Linked DNA regions of Homo sapiens: regions 2, 3, 4, 5, 6 and 7 are each linked to region 1. The links are contacts of gene promoters, found by promoter capture Hi-C in blood cells and fetal thymus (Javierre and others, 2016). All regions are on one chromosome and are shown on one strand. Each heading gives the region's core, a stretch centred on a gene start or on the middle of the fragment in contact. The rest is flanking DNA. Distances are from core to core; before and after follow the strand shown. Region 1 holds the start of STAC (SH3 and cysteine rich domain). Region 2 has its middle 210 kb from the start of MIR128-2. Region 3 has its middle 230 kb from the start of MIR128-2. Region 4 has its middle 260 kb from the start of MIR128-2. Region 5 has its middle 53 kb from the start of DCLK3. Region 6 has its middle 79 kb from the start of DCLK3. Region 7 has its middle 290 kb from the start of STAC.

Region 1 (2,558 bases), core at 18-2,517:
TGGATGCAGGACCAAACACATAATTTGCAGGGTCAAGTACAAAATGAAAATGTGATCTCTTGTTAAATATTTTTACCGAATTTCAAGATGGCAGCATCAGCGCGGGGCCCTGTGTGACTGCACAGGTTGCACATCCATGAAGCTGTTCTTGCAAACATCTACAGCTAATTTTAAAAATCTGAACAGAAGTTTGCAATTTTGTTTTAAAAAATTGAGGGTATTTTGTATTAATGGGGGAAAAGAGGCTTTTAAATATCTAGGTGTGTTTCTTTTCCCTGCACACTGAGGTTGTCTTCAAAAGAAACTGGACCCTCTGTATCTTTATTCAGTGGGGCTATTCCTATGTTTCCAAAAGATTTAGTAAGGCAGGCTGGTTTGCCCCTCTGTGAACAGTCCTCAACTCTTGCTATACTGCAACATCCAATTGCTCTTCAGCCAAGACCTGGCCTAGATTTGAGGCTCCACAGTCGGAAATGCATGGATTTTGAAGCCCAAATGTGTTCGAATTCCAGTTTCACCAATTATAGTTTAGTGACTTAAAGCAAATTACTCAGTCTTCCTACAGCCTCAACTTCCTCATCTATAAAATGGAAGTGATAATCCCTAGACGCATAGAGTAGCTGGGAGGATTAAATAAGGTAAAAAGAAAGGGTTTAGTACAATAAGTGCACAACAAACGAGGAACAGGTGTCCATATACACACTGCATTATCTCTCTGCTTTAGATCAAAGCTGAATGGAGAAAACGCAGTGCCCGTGAGTCAGGGGACCCCCACTCCGACCCCTGCTCTCTGTCACTGAACCCTATAAATAGCTTAGCTAAGTCACTGTCTCAGTCACTATTCGTTGGGGTGAGGAATGAGGGAGTTGTTGCAAGTGGCTCTTTCTGGCTATATCATTCACAGATTTTCTATTCTTTGGGGTTTGGGTCTGAATTTTCAGCATCCTCTCTGAAGAATCACCCCCACCCAGTGCCGGCGTGCGCCCAGCCTTCCCCCAGCCCTTTCCAGGGCGCTGCCCCCTGCCTGCCCTCACTACTCCAGGCGCTGGCCGCGCAGCCCCGCCCTGGAGCTGCCTCCCCGCCTCCTTCCTCCTCCTGCGGGCGAGCAGAAGCCCGCTCGCCCGCTGCCGAGTGGCAGTCACGACTGTGAGGTCGCCGGCGAGGTGGCCGCGGGCGCGGCGGGGCGGGGCAGGGCGCACTCTCCTCCACGCCCGCGGAAGTGCCGGGGAGGTGGGCAGGGCGGGGAGGGAGAGGGAGCGAGGCTGGAGGAGGGCACGTCGGCGCCTCGGCGAGGATGGGAGTCCCCAGGACCCGGAGCTGAGCAGCCTGGCGCGCGGCGGGCAGGGCGCGCAGGACAGAAGCCTCGCTGTTCCTCCGGGAGCCCAACACCGTTCCCGCGCGGCCACGATGATCCCTCCGAGCAGCCCCCGCGAGGACGGCGTGGACGGGCTGCCCAAGGAGGCGGTGGGCGCCGAGCAACCGCCCTCTCCTGCATCCACCAGCAGCCAGGAATCCAAGGTACCGAGCACGCTTGCCCCCAAGAGAACACAAACTCACTCTCCTCTCCTGTCGGTCCAGCTTTGTCTCTCCTCCTATCTAGCACGGGCGTGGGGGTCTGAGACTTGCTAGTTAGCCCAGGGCTGTAGGACTTGAACGTCCGGTAGGACCCGCTGCTCACGATGCTGGACCACGTCCCTGTGGACCCAGCCTTCCCGCCCACACATTCACACACGCAATTCATGGTGGCTCCGGGTTCAGAGATCGATTTCTTGCGGGGTGGTAGCTTGGTTTTTTTTGTGCTTTGAACCTGCTTGTGTCCAAAGCACGTGTAGGTAGGTATTAGGTGGCTTCTGAAGGCTGAGGGATGGAGACAGCCGAGGGATACTCTTCCAGAAAAGCTTGAGTACTGGGCCAGAAAAGCATGTATGTATCCCAAGGGTCTCAGAGACCTTTTGCTTAACAGGGATCACCCCTACCTTCAGATACTACTCACTAAAAAAGAAAAAGAAAAAGAAAGGGTTTGCCTGCGTTTGTCTGAAAGTTGATGTTCCTCTTGTGAAAGTTAATACTCTAAGAACCTATACTTGCTTTTATGAAAGTTACACTAACACGTATACAAAAAACCAAGCCCGCAGCAGTTCTCCTGTCACTGTTACACTTCCTCTGAAACTCCCGTGGGTGCCAGGCACATGTTTGAAAATCTTGGAAGAGGATAGAGTAAAATGTGGCTGCTAGCAGTGCAATGCCAAATGGCAACTCAGCTGGTGGTGGAAATCCTAAGATGGAGTTTGTAGTTATGTGGATTCTTTTAAGTGTAGAGCTCCTGGCTCTTTATTCTGATTTCATTGTGCGATCCCCAGGCATTTGGGGAATGTGAGGCAGTCCGTGTATACCAGCAAAGGAAAGGGGTTGCCAGTTTATAGGATAGGGACAGGCCAGATGGGGCAAGGAAGACTGCGATCCTGTCTCTCTTCACATGCATCCCTGGAAGCCATTGATATGATCAGGAGGATGAAAATCACAGCCTGAGTGGCTCTGGGGATTTGGTGTGATACTGG
Region 2 (2,558 bases), core at 17-2,516, 430 kb before region 1:
TTTGACTGTGTTATAAATTGGGTTTAGTCAATTGGCTTTATTTCTGATCCTTTCAGGTGGCCAAGGCTTAGCTCAGCACTCCTCGGCTGTATGCTCTAATCTTGGCAGCTGGGATCAGGCCTGTGACTTTGTTTTCTGGGCCCTTGAGTTTAGTATGTGCTGCACTGGAGGGGCCAAGGTGTTCCCAGCACACTAGCAACAACACTCCAACAGGGGCTGCCAGCAAAATCTCTAGTGAGGTGGCGGTGGGACCCTGTGCATGTGTGTGCCAGCAGTGTGCTGGAGATGGGTCTGTGAATGGATGCATGCTAGCAGGGTGGCAGAGAGAACCCACATGTATGCATTCCAGTGGGGCAGTGTGGGGAGACTGTGAGGGAGTGCACACTGGTGGAGGTCCATCTGCAAAGTGCTCTGATGGGTAGGTGGGGTCTGCTGGCAAAAGAGCTCTGGTGGCGGCCACTGGCAAGCTGAGGCTGTACTGCATGGGTGCAGCCAAGCAGGGACTCTGCGAGAGGCTGGCAGACAGGCAAGTGCTCAGATAAGACTATTCCTGTCTCACAGGTAAGACAGCTCTGCTCTGTCCAAGCCTGGTAGCTAACAAAGTCTAAAGCCCCTTAGAGTATGGTGAGCTTTGGGGGTTGAACACACATGGCTGTGCTCCACTGCAGCTGTTCCCACACCAAACCTTCTGGGCTCTGCACAGGCTGAAGTTATTTATCTGTCAATTCTCCAGGCAGTTCTCCTTGCTAGCTCAGGTGTCTGTGGGGGTCATGGGATCTCCTGTTGCTAGGATTCTGGAGGTTCATGGTGAGAGTGCACCATTACATGCCTGTTTTACTCAGCCCTTCCCTAGAAGCTGCTATGGGCCAGGAATGAGTCCTGGTGTTCAGTGACCCTATGCAGGGTCCCAAGCTTCCTTCCCCTTCAGTCTGGGGACTGCATCTTCTCTCTGTCCATTCTAAATATCTTTTTTTTTCTTTTTTTGTCTCAGGAAAGCTTGTGCAAAGAAATAAAAATGTGGGATAAAATCTTAAGTATGAGAAAATGTTAGTTGAGTAAAGAAAGCAGATTTCTGGGTAGGGAAAGAATCATGAAAGAAGGTTCTAAAGTTGAAAAATGTTATAGTTTATTGGAAGAACTGATTGAAGAGTAATGTGGACAGCGCACTGAGAGTAAGAGAAATAATGGTGCAAAGGGAAGGCTGAGAGGCAGATTAGGGTCTAAAACACATTTAAAATGGCCAATAACAATGATGGTGAACATTTACAGAGTATTTGATGGTGCACACTATTCCAGTTCCTGCATTAAACACAAAAGTTTAAATAGTATATCACAGATTTAGCCTGTCCACCTGTTAAGATCTGGGTATTAAATTTCATTGCTAGTAAGACCCAGTGTCTGCTTTTCCAGAACTAAGATCCCTGCAGCTTTCAAATGTCAGCACTTCTTTCCCTTGCAACTGTGTTAAACCAGAGCACAAGGAGGGACCTCCTGCCTTAATCTTGCTTTTCTATTTTTAAACACATGTCTTCTTTCAAAGCTTATCTATTTTATATTCTGAATACATGCATTAGCCAAGAAGAATTCAAAACATTTTAATTACTATTTAAAGAAGTAGAGATGTTGATACAGATTTTAAATTATACATGCAAGTATAATTTTTTTTTATTTTATTCTGTCATGTTCTCTATCCTGAGGAAATTTTTTCCTGATTGCAAGTCACTGTTTGTTCTGGTTTCCCTGCTTAGCTCAGGAGTGATGGCCCGTCTTCACTCTTACACAGAAATTTTCTCAGTTGCTTTTTCCAAGGGGTGGGAACCTATGTTGTATATAGTCTTAGGAACTTTCACACATATGTGTATATAAATGTACAGTAGGCAATACTAGTGACAACAGTAGCTCTCCTGGGAAAAACCCTACAGAAGAAAATGGCCCTCATTTTTCCTATAATATCACTACCAGTAAGTTATTGTGATAAACTTTATCTTATTTAAAAGCATACCTCCCCAAGTGTTAAAACACAAAATATATCAATCATTCTCATTTAAATCTAAGGATCTTTAAGTAATTTTGTGTGTGCTGAGAGGCATGAGATAAAGATTTCTGAGAATAAGGCTCAGCCTCCAGAGGGTGAATTTGTGCTGCACAAAACCATAAAACACCCTGGAGAAAGGAAAATCAGGATGTGGAGAAATGGGTCCAGCACTTGGCAGAGGGCCATTCCTGAACACCACCACCAATGGCATCGTTCAGCGTGTACTTCCACATGCATTCTCACATCTAAAGCCTCCTCAGTTCTACCAGGGAGGTACTACCACTGCTACAGCAAGGAAATCAAGAATCAGAGATTAAACTGCTTTTCAAAGCCACTTTAACTTTGGTGGTTTGGTGAGACCGCAGAAATTTTCACTTCCAAACCTGTGTTTTTTGTAATACCCCAAAATTTAAGGAATCTAGGTCCTGGCTAAGGGTTGCCATAAGGACTAGAACTTGAGTACTGGTTCACCTGTGCTTCCTTGGTCCCCAGAGGTGATCTGCAGCATGTGCTGCGGAATCAG
Region 3 (2,558 bases), core at 35-2,534, 400 kb before region 1:
ATCAAAAGCAAGTTAGTTACTTCGTAGATTAAATGGGGTACAGGCATTGGGTAAATATATCCATTCCAAATGGGATAAATTGGTCAAAACAAAAGGGCTATTGGCCCCATGGAAGTTCAAAATCCAAAAGGGCAGCCATTAAACCTTAAAGTTCCAAAATGATCTCCTTTGACTCCTTGTCTTACATCCAGGTCATGCTGATGCAAGAGGTAGGCTCCCATGGCCTTGGATAGCTTTGTCCCTGTGGCTTTGCAGGGTACAGCCCCCCTCCCAGCTGCTTTCATGAGCTGGTGTTGAGTGTCTGTGGGTTTTCCACATGCATGGTGCAAGTTGGTGGATCTACCATTCTGGGGTCTGGAGGACAGTGGTACTCTTTGCACAGCTCCACTAGGCAGTGCCCCAGTGGGGACTCTGTGTCGGGGTTCACACCCCACATTTCCCTTCTGCACTGTCCTAGCAGAGGTTCTCCATGAGGGCTTTGCCCCTGCAGCTAACTTCTGCGTGGACATCCAGGCATTTCCATACAACCTCTGAAATCTAGGGAGAGGTTCCCAAAACTCAATTCTTGTCTTCTATGCACCTGCAGGACCAACACCACATGGAAGCTGCCAAAGATTGGGGCTTGCACCCTCTGAAGCAGTGGCCTGAGCTGTAACTTTGCCCTTTTTGCCACAGGTGGAGCAGCTGGGACACAGAGCATCAAGTCTGGAGGCTGCACACAACAGAGGGGGCCCTGGCCCTGGCCCTGGCCCATAAAACTATTTTTCCCTCCTAGGCCTCAGGGTCTATGATGGGAGGGGCTTCTGTGAAGGCCTCTGACATGCCCTGGAGACATTTTCTCCATTGTCTTGGCTATTAACATTCAGCTCCTCATTTCTTATGCAAATTTATGCAGCCAGCTTAAATTTTTTCCCAGAAAATGGGTTTTTGTTTCTACTGCATCATCAGGCTGCAAATTTTCCAAACTTTTATGCTCTGTCACCTCTTGAATGCTTTGCTGCCTTAGAAATTTTTTCCACCAGATACCCTAAATTGTCTCTCTCAGGTTCAAAGTTCCACAGATCTCTAAGGCAGGGGCAAAAAGCCACCAGTCTTTTTGCTAAAGCACAGTAAGGGTGACCTTACTCCAGTTCCCACAAGTTTCTCATCTCCACCTAAGACCACCTCAGCCTGGATTTCATTGTCCATATCACTATCAGAATTTTGGTCAAAGCCATGAAACAAGTCTCTAGGAGGTTCCAATCTTTCCCACATCTTTCTGTCTGCTTCGGAGTCCTCCAAACTGTTCCAACCTCTGCCCATTACCCAGTTTCAGAGTCGCTTCCACATTCTCAGGTATCTTATAGCAATGCCCCACTCTCAGTACAAATTTACTGTATTAGTCTGTTCTCATGCTGCTGTGAAGTAACACCTGAGACAGGGTGATTTGTAAAGGAAAGAGGTTTAATTGATTCACAGTTCTGCATTGCTGGGGAGGCCTCTGGAAACTTACAATCATGGCAGAAAGCAAAGGAGAAGCAGGAACTTTCTTCATAGGGCAGCAGGATGGATTGAGCACTAGCAGGGGAAATGCCAGATGCTTGTAAAACCATCCAATCTCATGAGACTCACTTACCATCACAAGAATGGCATGGAGGAAACTGCCCTATGATCCAGTTACCTCCACCTGGTCCCATCCTTGACATGTTAACATTATGGGAATTACAATTCAGGTGCAGTTTGGGTGGGGACACAGAGCTGAACCATATCAAGAACTATAAGGATAATAAAAAATATTAAAAGTATTTGGATAGGAGAAAATAGTTATTGACAAAGGAACAAAAGGCACTATGGTCTCAGACTTACGAGTAACATTACAGAAAGCTAGACAATGCCATTTAAAGTTCTAGTAGAGCATATTTTTTTCCTAAAACACATTCTCAATGACATATGAGGATGGATTAAAGATATTTTATTTGGACATTGCTTGAGGATATGCACAAGTAAAATATAAAATAAAAACCAGAAAGAGATGGGATTTAGGATTGGGACTAATCAGAAAAGAAATTAAATCCAGAATTCAACAATGCAAGAAGCAAAAAAAAAAAAAAAAAAAAAGAAAACTAATATTCAAATAGCAGTCCAGGAGGTCCTGGGGAAGTGATTTCCTAGGACATTAACGAAATCTTCATTTACTGGGTGGAATTTTAAGTAGTTATGTATAAATTGTAGGATAATACAAGAAGCCCCACATACCCATGGCCTGGTTTCAACAATTAACACATAACACATGACCAATCTTTGCTACATTTTAATATCTGTCATGTCAGAAATTTAATATTTAGAATTATGTAAAATAGTATACTATTATATATATATATAGAGAGAGAGAGAGAGAGATAGCTGAATGATAAGCTACAATTTTTAAAAAATGGCTGTCCATTAAAGGGAAGAGGAAAGGCATTGTTTTCATTAAATGCCTTTGCATATCATTTGTTTTTTAAGAAACAATTATTCGTGTACACGATAAAAATGTATATAACAATTAAGATAGAATTAAAGATAAATACAATATAGTT
Region 4 (2,558 bases), core at 31-2,530, 380 kb before region 1:
TGCTAAGGGAAGGTAAATTCACTTAACTCAAGGTTTTGACTTACATTTACCTGTAATGTTTTTGCCATAACCAATAATAAGCTACTGTTGAGAGAAAGTATACTTTCAGAGTTCAGATAAAGAATGCAAGGTAGTGAAATTGCTTATATTTAATAATTTCAAATAATGCTAACAGAAAACAGCTGTAATAGACTGATTTATAAGATAATATATTAATATGTTTTTATAAGACTTTTCTTTCAGTGTATCATGATTTTTATGCAGCCATTTTACTTTAGCACTTAGATTATTCCTTTGCTCAAACAAATCTATTCCATTATTGTACTTTTTGAATTATACATATATCTTTTTGTTCTCTTTATATAATACACAAATTGTCATGAGGATTGAAAATTTTAATTTGTTTTTCCACGGCATTGTTTGGCAATAAGTTAAAATAGGAAAATAAAAAAAGCATGAGTAAATTAGACTCTGATGACTGATTGAATGTGAGGATGGGTTTTGGAATGAAAGAAATTGTTATGATCACTCCAAGCTTATCACATTGACTAATTCTATGTATTTGTTTTCTGGTGACAGGAGCTGATGATCAGTTATGCCGAGAAAAAGCTATGTCTGTGGTGACAAGTGGGAGTATTTCAGAAGCTTCATGGGCTCATATGGAAGTTAATCTTAGGTGGGTAGCAGAGAAGGTGGTATGTGAGATAATGAAGAAAATTGAGAATACGTCAGTAAGAAAAAAATCTAGCAGAGAGAATGAGTTGAAGATGTTGGAAATAAATCTTTATGTCCTTAGAGATTATCCAAAGAAGAAACTGTGGTCTGTCACATGACCTCTCCCTTTGTTAATTCTGTGATGGCTTTTACAATATGTCAATTTGGCTAGGTTATTTTCTCTAGTTATTCAATCAAACACTAACTTGGGTGTTACTGTAAAGGTATTTTGCAAATCTAATTCAGCTCCCTAATCAGGTAACTTTAAGTAAGGTATATTATCCTGGATAATATGAGTAGGCCTGACTGAAGCAACTGGAAGGCCATAAAAGCCTTACTGAGACTTCTCCAAGGTACAAAGGAATTCCACCTGTGGATAATAGCTTTGGACCTTGTTCATAGACTTACATCTAGTTTAAAATCTTACTTTCTTGACTGTCTGTGGACAACAGCTTCAGCTTGTGCCCATAAATTCCAGCCTGCCCATAATCTTGCCTCCCAGACTGCCTGCCCTATGGAATTTTACTTTCTTAGCCAGGTTCCACAATTGCATAAGCCGATTCCTTATATTTAAATGTATTGTTTCACATGTATGTTAATAATATCATATAGTACTGCTTCTCTGGTAGAACCTGACTTATTTATCTTCAAGTTCTTTGATCTCCTATCCTACTACCTTATGCTCATGATGAAACCAAAACTCTAATTGAATCCAACATTCAATCAACTTTATGACACATATATTTAGAGTCATAAAAGATATCCCATTATAAGGCTGCATAACATGTTAGAGATAATAAATAAGAAAGAGATATAGATATTTGATACCTGCATGTTCTTCACAAACTGAACCCAACCATTAGACTTCTCTTTATCATGAAGAACTTAACGTCATCTAAAATCAGAAATGTGGAATATTTCTATAGGTGATTATATGGATTTTAAAAGTTAAGAATAAAAACCAAGACAAAATAAAAACACTTAGGATACACTAAATTATCTTTCTAACAAACTACTCAGTCTTCCTAGACAGTGGAACCTCTACTTTGTTTACTGTTTCCTTTCACTTTCTTATCAGACAATATTTTGGACTCTGAGAAACACCTTATTTAATAGTTAGAATTCTGTAACTACTATTTAGAAGGTAACATAAAATACAAATAATATATGTAGTGCATCTACATTTTTTCCTGATGAATGGAAAGCTTAATCAGTCTTAATCAAAATACTACAATTATTCATGCTAGTGTATGAATAATAATGGGATTTGCATTTTAAAGCCAAATGAATGAATCTTTAAAGTGAAAATTTCAGAAATCAGCAATTAAGTCAATTCAAGAGTGGTTAAAAAATGTGCCAAAATTCTGGGGACAGTACAATGGCTCTGCATCCAGGATATAATTATAAATGTGGTGACAGTGAAGGCACATACACAATATTCAAAGCTCCTGGCAGCTTCTCTGTTGACAACCCTACTCCCTCTTTTTCTATCCTTATTCGTGGTAAATGGTCCTTTTTTATCAGAACCAGGTAGGCTTAACAATGAGATGCAGCTCTCCCAGGATCCTAACGAAAGTGCATTCAAGTGATCCTACCTTGCTCCTCAATTTTCTACTTTAGTTTCTGAAATTGACTCAGTCTTTCATTGTGGTGCTTTATCCTTAATGCCATTGGCCATACCCTTTTTCCTAAAACTCCAAATAACTTGGAAACCCAGAAATTAAAAAAATATTATCCTGAATTACTTATCATGACATAATGCACTTAAAGTAAAATCTAGGTTTATTTAAAAAAACAAAGAAGAAGAAGAAGAAGAAAACTGAAGGTATCACACGACCAGACTT
Region 5 (2,558 bases), core at 21-2,520, 330 kb after region 1:
ATACTGGAAGCTTGCCTGGCTTGAAACAGGACAGAAGTGGCAGGGAGTTCATACACCAAGAGAAACTCTCAAAGAACAAAGGACAGTAGTTGGTGGATACAACTCCAGTTTTCTTGCCCAGTATGAGACAGTTCTGAAGTGTGTTCAAGAGCGCTCTCAGTGGACGTGAGCTCCAGTTGCCCACAGCGGCCCTCACACGTGAATGCACTCTTTCTTGGCCTTCCTCTCTTCCTGGACTCATTTCCCCATTTCTTCTCCACACTTCTTGGTTTTGCCTCCCAAATAAACTATCCACCTATGTCCTTGTCTCAGGGTCTGCTTGGGAGAACCCCGTGTCCCCAGATTTCTCCAGGTAGGCTCAGCTTCCTCCCACTCTGGCCAGCAGCATCCAGCACCACCTGGGTGAGCTGCTCTCCACTCCTCAGCACAGCTATAGAGCTGGACCCTCGTTACTCACACAGGCCCAGCCAGTCTTGCTCACACACTGGAACTCATTCTAATCCCTCTTTTGAATAAAGAAAACCAGAATTATTTCTGCAAACCCTCTGAGTTTGCTGGTACCCTGGATTACATGGCTAAAAGCTTCCTCAAAGCCAGCAGGGTGCACTCACTCAGAGAGCCCTGGACCCAGAGCCGATCTGTGCCCTGGTCCTCTGGGATCAGCCTCAGTCTGGGCAGCCAAGCATTAGGCAGGTCCATTCCAGTCAAGAGGGGCTAGATGGTCCCCAAGCTCAGTGGCCTCCTGCTCATTCTCACTGGCTATGAGAAAGTCACAGGCTGGTTTCCCTGGGAAGCAGACACTGAAAGAGAGGCATGTGTGCAGGAAGTTTACTGGGGACTGTTCTGTGTCAGCACTTGCTGGGGAAGAAGGTATGAATAGCGTGGGACTGAGCAGAAGAAGGAGCTAACTGTGGTCTAGTTGAAACCAAGGCCATGTCTGATCCCACATGGAGCTACAGCATGGCCCTGTGAGCTGTCCTGAGTTGAAGCAAGGGGACTGGACCTTTTTAACCCAGATCAACCTGTTATCGGATGTGAGCTTCCCTGGAGAAAGATATGACTGAGTGAGGAGACTCAATTCAGCCCAGGGCAGGATCAGAATAGTGGGTGCTTCAGGGATCAATAAGGCAACCAGAGCCTCCACATCAGTGTCATGAGTTTTCAGGGGAAGAGAGAATCAGAAACTCCCGTGCCACCTGGAGCAGGTAAGAAACACAAAGCTGTTGCCTTATGATTGCCCAACTCAAGAGGCACTGGAGCCAAGCCCTAGAAAGAACACAAGTCACTTGACAGTCACCCCTGGGGCTTCTCCACTGGAAGTGTCCCCCTTGGAAGGACCAACCATGACTCCTAAGCCACCTCCACATTCACCATCAACTCCCAACAAATCTGTAGGTGATTGGGTTGCATGTGATGCCCCTGGCCCCACAGTACTGGCCACTGGTTTCAAACACAGCCTTCCAGGTCTCATGAAGTGGAAGGACTGGGGCTGGAGTTAAAGGAGCCTCTAGAAAAAGTACCTCTGTTGCAGAAAGGAGTCTTTTTAGTATTGCTTATCCATGGGTATTTGGGATCTGGCCTTGCAGGATCAGACACAGAGCAGAGGCCGGGAACGGAAGGGATGGTGCCACTCTGCACTGCAGGGCTTATCTGGCAGCTGGCATTTTTTGTAAACCAAGTGATGACAGGCAAGTCAGGTTATTTCTCTGAGCCTCAGTCTCCCCATCTGTAAAGCAGGGCTGAGAATCATAGCCAGTGGTGCCATTGTTCTGGGTGGAAATGAGATACACACTGGAATTCACTCCAAGAGCTATATATTAAGTGCTACACAATTGTCAAAGTTTTGAACACAGCTTTGTTGTAATAACAACACAGCTTCTGTGTTATTTCTCAATTATGTTCAAATATTATCATTTGAGTAATAAAAAGCAAAACCATGTGGTAAACCATGAGAGAAAAGAAGCTTTCATCACTCTTTATGGGAGGATAAATTAAAAAATCAAGTTGGCAATATCTGATCAAGTTGGAGATTTTCTATCTAAGAAAAGAAATTCTCCTACACATGTGCAAAGGATGCATATAGGATGGATGGTAAATACAGCATGTTTGTAAGAATAAATAATTACTGAGAAACAGCCTAAACGTCCAATGGAAGAGAAACTAAGAAAGTTTAGTGGACAGATCCAAGCAACACTGAGGAAGTAAATCAATGGGGAGGGACTGATTCAGGAGTCAGAGAGTGAGGTATCAAGGGTGATGCCTGTGTTTTGAACTTGCTGAACAACACCATTCCCTGAGATAGGGAGAAATAGAGGAAGGACAGGTTTGGAGGTGATAATTGTGCATTCTGCTGTAGAGGAACCTCTGATGGCTGTGCAGGGATATGTTCTGTAGGCAGTTGGAAAGGTGGGCCTAGAACTTAGAGAAGCCTTGGATGGAAACATAACTGGGGGCAGGGAAGGAGAAGCTCATCTGCAAATAGACAGTGAGTGTAAATGAAGTTGCCAGGTGAAATAGAGTGAAAATAGAGTCTAGGACTGAACTTTGAGGACCTGCAA
Region 6 (2,558 bases), core at 38-2,537, 300 kb after region 1:
GATGCCAAAGTCAGACAAAGATACCACAAGAAAGAAAATTATAGAGCAATATTTCTGATGGATATTAATGCAGAAACTTCAGCAAAATACTAGCAAACTCATCACCTCAATTGATGAATAAAAAGCATTTAACAAAATTAAAAATTATTTCATGATAAAAAATAACCATCAAACTAGGAATAGAAGAAAATTACATCAACATAATAAAGATCATATATGAAAAGCCCACAGCTAACATCATATGCAATGGTGAAAAACATAGCTTTTCCTCTAAGATTAGGAACAAGGCAAGGATGCCCACTTTCACCACTTCTATTTAGCACAGTACTGGAAGTTCTAGCCAGAGCAATTAGACAGAAAAAAGAAATAAAAGACACAGAAATTGGAAAGAAAGAAGTAAATTATCTCTGTTCATAGATGACACGATCTTATATGCAGAAAATCCTAAAGATTCCACACAAAAATACTGTTAGAATTAAAAATAAAAAAATTCAGCAAAGTTGCAGGATACGAAATCAACACTCAATAATCAATTGTGTTTCTATACACTAAAAACGAGCAATTAAAAAAATAAATTTAAAAAGAAATTAGGAAATAAGCACTTCAAAAATGAAATTAGTAAACAGTGTGGACATTCCTCAAAAAATTACAAATAAAACTATCACACGACTAGCAATGCCACCTCTAGGGCACACATCCAAAATTTGATGCAATCAGGTGCAGCAAAATCTCACAAATCACCACTAAAGGACGTACTCATGCAACCAAATACCACCTGTACCCCAACAACTTATGAAAAAACTAAATAAATAAATAAATAAATTTTTTAAAAATCGATGCAATCCCATTTACAACAGCATCAAAAAGAAATAAAGTTAACAAGGAGACAAAAAGGATGTGAGGGTGATCTCACTGCAACATCTGTCACCCCATTGATTGCCAGCGTTGATTTGGCTGATCCAGCTGGATAGGCAGGTGTCTCTTTTCTCCCTCACTGCTCCATGTGCATCTCTCTTGAAGCTGCGCACTGGTCGAAGGGGACGACCATCACCCATAGAGAAGTACTGGTCTTCAGTCAAGGGTATACAAGAAGCTGCATTCTCCTGTTAGAACCTCCAAACAAGCTCTCAAGGTCCATTTGTAGGAGAATGTAGGGTAGTCAAGCTTCCAAGACTCCAGACACTTCCAAATGAGGTGCTGCATATAGCAGTCTGCCTTTCTTTTGAAAAAACAAAAAAACACAAGGAGACAAAAGACTTGCACAATGAAAACTATAAAACGATGCTAAAATAAATAAAAGAAGACATAAATAAATGGAAAGACATCCTATGTTCATGAATTGGAAGACTTCATTTTGTGAAAATGTCTGTACTGCCCAAAGTAATCTACAGATTCAATCCAATCCCTATTGAAAGCTTAATCACATTTTTTGCAGAAATAAAAGGAATATCCCAAAATTTCTATGGAATCTCAAAGGACCCCAAATAGCCAAAATAATCTTGAGAAAGAAGAACAAAGCTGAAGGCTTCACACTTCCTCACTTCAAAGCATATTACAAAGCTACAGTAATCAAATATTTACATAATATTTTAAGTGTATATTATCATAATAACATAATCAAATATTTACATAAAGCCAAACATATAGACCAATGGAACAGAAAAGAAAGCCCAAAAATAAATCCATAGGTCAAATCATAGCAAGGGTGCCAAGACAACACAACAGAGAAAGCATATTGTCTTCAACAAATAGTAGTTAAAAAATACTTAGTTAGCCAGGCTAACTAAGAAAAAAAAAAATGGAGTGAACACAAGTCACTAATAACAGAAATGAAAGAAAGACATTACTAAAAATCCTATGAACATTAAAATAATAATAAAAGAGTACTATTAATGACTCTATGTCCACAAATTTGATAACCTAATTGAAGTGGATCAATTCGTAGAAAGACACAATCTGTCAAAACTTACACAAGAAGAAATAGACCATTGGAATAGGCGTTTATCTATTAAAGAAATTAAATCAATAATTTATAACCTTCCAAAACAGAAAGAACCAGGCCTAGATGGGTTCACTGGTGAATTCTAGCAAGGATTTAGGAAGAAATACCAATTCTCTACAATCTCTTTCAGAAGACAGAAGCAGAGGGAATACTTCCTAGTTCATTTTATGAGGTCAGTGTTACCTTAATGCAAAAACCAAAGATATAAGAAAATAAAACTACAGACCAATATCTGTTATGAACATAGATGCAAAATTCCTCAACAAAATATTAAGAAATCAAACCTAACAATGTATGAAAAGAATTATACACCACAACCAAGTGAGATTTATTGTAAGTATGCAAACATTGTTTGGCAGTAGAAAACCAATTAATGCAATACATCATATCAACAGGCTAAAGAAGAAAAAACACACAATAGATGTAGAAAAAGCATTTGACAAAACCCAACACCCATTCATGATTTTTTGAAATCTCTCAGTGAATTAGGAATAGAACTTCCTCAAAAACTCTACAGCTAACATACTTAATGGTGAGAAAATGTCAGTTTTCTCAC
Region 7 (2,558 bases), core at 39-2,538, 290 kb before region 1:
CAGAAGAGTGGCCAGGCAATCAATGGAGTATCATGGGAATCCAGTTGTAACAGTAGGGTGTTCCTACAACAGAAAATCTACCACAATATGAAGAAGCTATCTGAAAAGACTTAGGCAGACAGCACCCACCTAGAGATGTATTTGAGTACAGTGACACAATCATGGTACCAAGATTTTGGGAAACCAAATTACTCCATCCCAAGCGACAGAAACTGCAAGAGGAACTATGATGCCCTGAAAACAGAAAATTTACACATGATGACTGAGTTTCTAGAGATGGAATGTAAGGTCTTTCGGTGCATTTGCTATAATAGTTTTTAATGGTCTTTCTGTCTGCAGTGTTCTTTTCTTCAAATACAACCTCTTTGTTGCAGAGAGGGATCATTCTCAAATGCAAATTTGATTATCTGAAAGTCCTCAATGGTTCCTCAGGAACTTGTACCCTCTGGATAAAGCTCATACTCTTTAAAATGGTATTTAATAACCTTTAAAAACTAGATTCTGCCTACTTTTCTCATTTTCTATCTTCTGTCCTAAAGCAACATGCTTTTTATTTAACTAACAAATATTTATTAAACACTCACTGTAAACACTGATAGAATCTGAGAATATAAAGATAAATATGGTGTCAGAGTTCTAGAAGCTTACAGCGAGGTGAGCAGAGGGATGCTTTAAATATAACTAAACCACTAGAATTCAATATGATGATTGGTATTGTTGTCAATAGATAATGCTCTAAAGAAAGCATAATTATGGCTCACACAAATAAAAAATGAACACGTGTGAAAGATTCAAACGTTGTATTTATCTCATTAATTAATGAGAGAACCAATAAGATGATACAGCTGATTCAACAGAGAATTCAGAGAGCAGAAACAGATTTTTGAAATGGATTTGCAAATAAATGAAAATAACTCTATCCAATGGTCAATAATTGCATTCCACCAGATGCAATTAGTTTGCATTTCTATGGACACAAATCATTTGCGTGATTATGTTTTGTGCATTTTCTAGAGTTGTAAAATAGTTCAGAGATAATACAAAAGGGCGATAACCTTGATGGATGACCTAGACAGGACACAAAATAATGTGCTCTTGCCCATTTCAAAGCCTTCCACAATTTTCCTGATAAAGCTGAAGCACATAAAAGGATGGTGGTCATAGAGATTATGCGCCTAGAGTTGGAAGATTAATGAGGAAAGCTTCATTTGATGCCTAGATTGTGGTCATGAATGGAATTTTTCCAGGTCATTTTGAGAATAATGAACATGCATTCTGCTGGTGAGAATAAAAAAGAGGTAAGGATGGCTTCAAAGCGGTACAATTAATGGGTCTCAAAGATCTTTCCTTACAAGAACTGTGGGAATAAAGTTCACAAGCTTCCTCAGTCTTTTCAGGATTCTAAATAAACCATTGATGAAGGGATTCCTCCAGAATGGTTGGAGGAAAGAGCAGTCAATGACCCTTTCTTCTTAGGTGGCTCTCAAGTGTGGTCCAGAAACAGCAGTACAGCATCACCTGAGAAACTGCTAAAGGTGCAAATCTGGGGGCCTGAACCCAGAACTACTGAATCAGAAATTCTGAGGGTATGCCCAGAAATCTGTGTTCTAACAAGCCTGCCAGGTGATTCTGATGCTCCTTTGAGTTTGATAACAACTGTCTTAGAGGAGCAGGTACCTGAAAACCTGCAGAAAGATACTACCTTGCAGACCCAAACCTCGGTTACAGGAAGAAAATCTTTCCACATTTATATAACAAGAATAATATATATTCCTGTTTTTATATTATTATATTCTTGTTATATAATTGTGGGAGAAAATGTGTGTACACACGCCAACACACAAAAGAATAAGTTAAAGCTCATTCTTCTGATTTTAGTAAATTATTTATCTGCATATCTATTCTTTCACTGCTTCCTAAACTGTCTGGCCACAGGTACAGTATCTTTTCTGAATTTCCAGGAAGGGTTTATGGTAGAAATAATATGACAAGTATTTGCTGAGTGACTGACCAGATAACTTCACAAGGCAAAAAATCTGGTGGCAAAATGCAGGTTGAAGACCATTGTCAGACGAGTAGGAAGACTAATATAAATACCAGTATAGAATGCCTCGAGTTCTCCAAGTCAAAAGATCAGTTTAGTTTCAAGTAAGAGAATTCCACTTATGTGGGTAGGAGCAAGGATACTGGAGACTGGTTCCCCCTGCAAAGGACAGTGTGAAACAATAACATGTATGTTTTCAGTGTATAACACAATATTAGTTAATAATACCAACTAAGTATTAACTAATTATTAGTTATTAACTAATATTGTATTGTACACTGAAAATTTGCTAGGAAGGTAGGATTTAGGTGATCTTACCACATACACAAATAGAAAAGGTAACTATGTAAGGTGATGGGTATGTTAATTTGCTTCACTATAAGTAATCATTTCACTATATATATCAAAATAGTAAGTTGTAAAGCTTAAATATACACAATAAAATTTTTAATTGAAATTGCATTAAAATTAAATGTTATTACAAAGTAGAGCCTGTATCAGAATAAAATTGTAA

What was found. The method cuts DNA at HindIII sites, captures the fragments that hold promoters and counts their contacts. A CHiCAGO score of 5 or more calls a contact.
Region 2: a fragment that was not itself captured here is called in contact with the fragment with the promoter of STAC in region 1 in 1 of 17 cell types (megakaryocytes); the score reaches 6.1 in megakaryocytes.
Region 3: a fragment that was not itself captured here is called in contact with the fragment with the promoter of STAC in region 1 in 1 of 17 cell types (megakaryocytes); the score reaches 10.2 in megakaryocytes.
Region 4: a fragment that was not itself captured here is called in contact with the fragment with the promoter of STAC in region 1 in 1 of 17 cell types (megakaryocytes); the score reaches 10.2 in megakaryocytes.
Region 5: a fragment that was not itself captured here is called in contact with the fragment with the promoter of STAC in region 1 in 2 of 17 cell types (megakaryocytes and M0 macrophages); the score reaches 5.8 in megakaryocytes.
Region 6: a contact is called between a fragment that was not itself captured here and the fragment with the promoter of STAC in region 1, in 1 of 17 cell types (megakaryocytes). The highest score is 5.0, in megakaryocytes.
Region 7: a contact is called between a fragment that was not itself captured here and the fragment with the promoter of STAC in region 1, in 1 of 17 cell types (megakaryocytes). The highest score is 5.3, in megakaryocytes.

The regions. Positions count from the first base shown.
Region 1 is chr3:36,379,237-36,381,794 of GRCh38, forward strand. It overlaps STAC (SH3 and cysteine rich domain), which reads left to right and starts at 1,268. Exons shown (of 11, transcript NM_003149.3): 1 at 1,268-1,518. The coding sequence starts at 1,408. The region is part of intron 2 of LOC124906227 (a long non-coding RNA gene); the gene reads right to left. The HindIII fragment of the contact is 3,341 bases long and covers 1-1,896 here.
Region 2 is chr3:35,953,115-35,955,672 of GRCh38, forward strand. No RefSeq gene overlaps it. Among named protein-coding and RNA genes, the nearest start is that of MIR128-2, 210 kb to the left of the region's middle. The HindIII fragment of the contact is 544 bases long and covers 995-1,538 here.
Region 3 is chr3:35,974,302-35,976,859 of GRCh38, forward strand. No RefSeq gene overlaps it. Among named protein-coding and RNA genes, the nearest start is that of MIR128-2, 230 kb to the left of the region's middle. The HindIII fragment of the contact is 9,312 bases long and covers 1-2,558 here.
Region 4 is chr3:36,003,521-36,006,078 of GRCh38, forward strand. No RefSeq gene overlaps it. Among named protein-coding and RNA genes, the nearest start is that of MIR128-2, 260 kb to the left of the region's middle. The HindIII fragment of the contact is 1,274 bases long and covers 644-1,917 here.
Region 5 is chr3:36,709,862-36,712,419 of GRCh38, forward strand. No RefSeq gene overlaps it. Among named protein-coding and RNA genes, the nearest start is that of DCLK3, 53 kb to the right of the region's middle. The HindIII fragment of the contact is 1,381 bases long and covers 581-1,961 here.
Region 6 is chr3:36,684,147-36,686,704 of GRCh38, forward strand. It overlaps the pseudogene RN7SKP227. Among named protein-coding and RNA genes, the nearest start is that of DCLK3, 79 kb to the right of the region's middle. The HindIII fragment of the contact is 251 bases long and covers 1,163-1,413 here.
Region 7 is chr3:36,092,771-36,095,328 of GRCh38, forward strand. No RefSeq gene overlaps it. Among named protein-coding and RNA genes, the nearest start is that of STAC, 290 kb to the right of the region's middle. The HindIII fragment of the contact is 177 bases long and covers 1,201-1,377 here.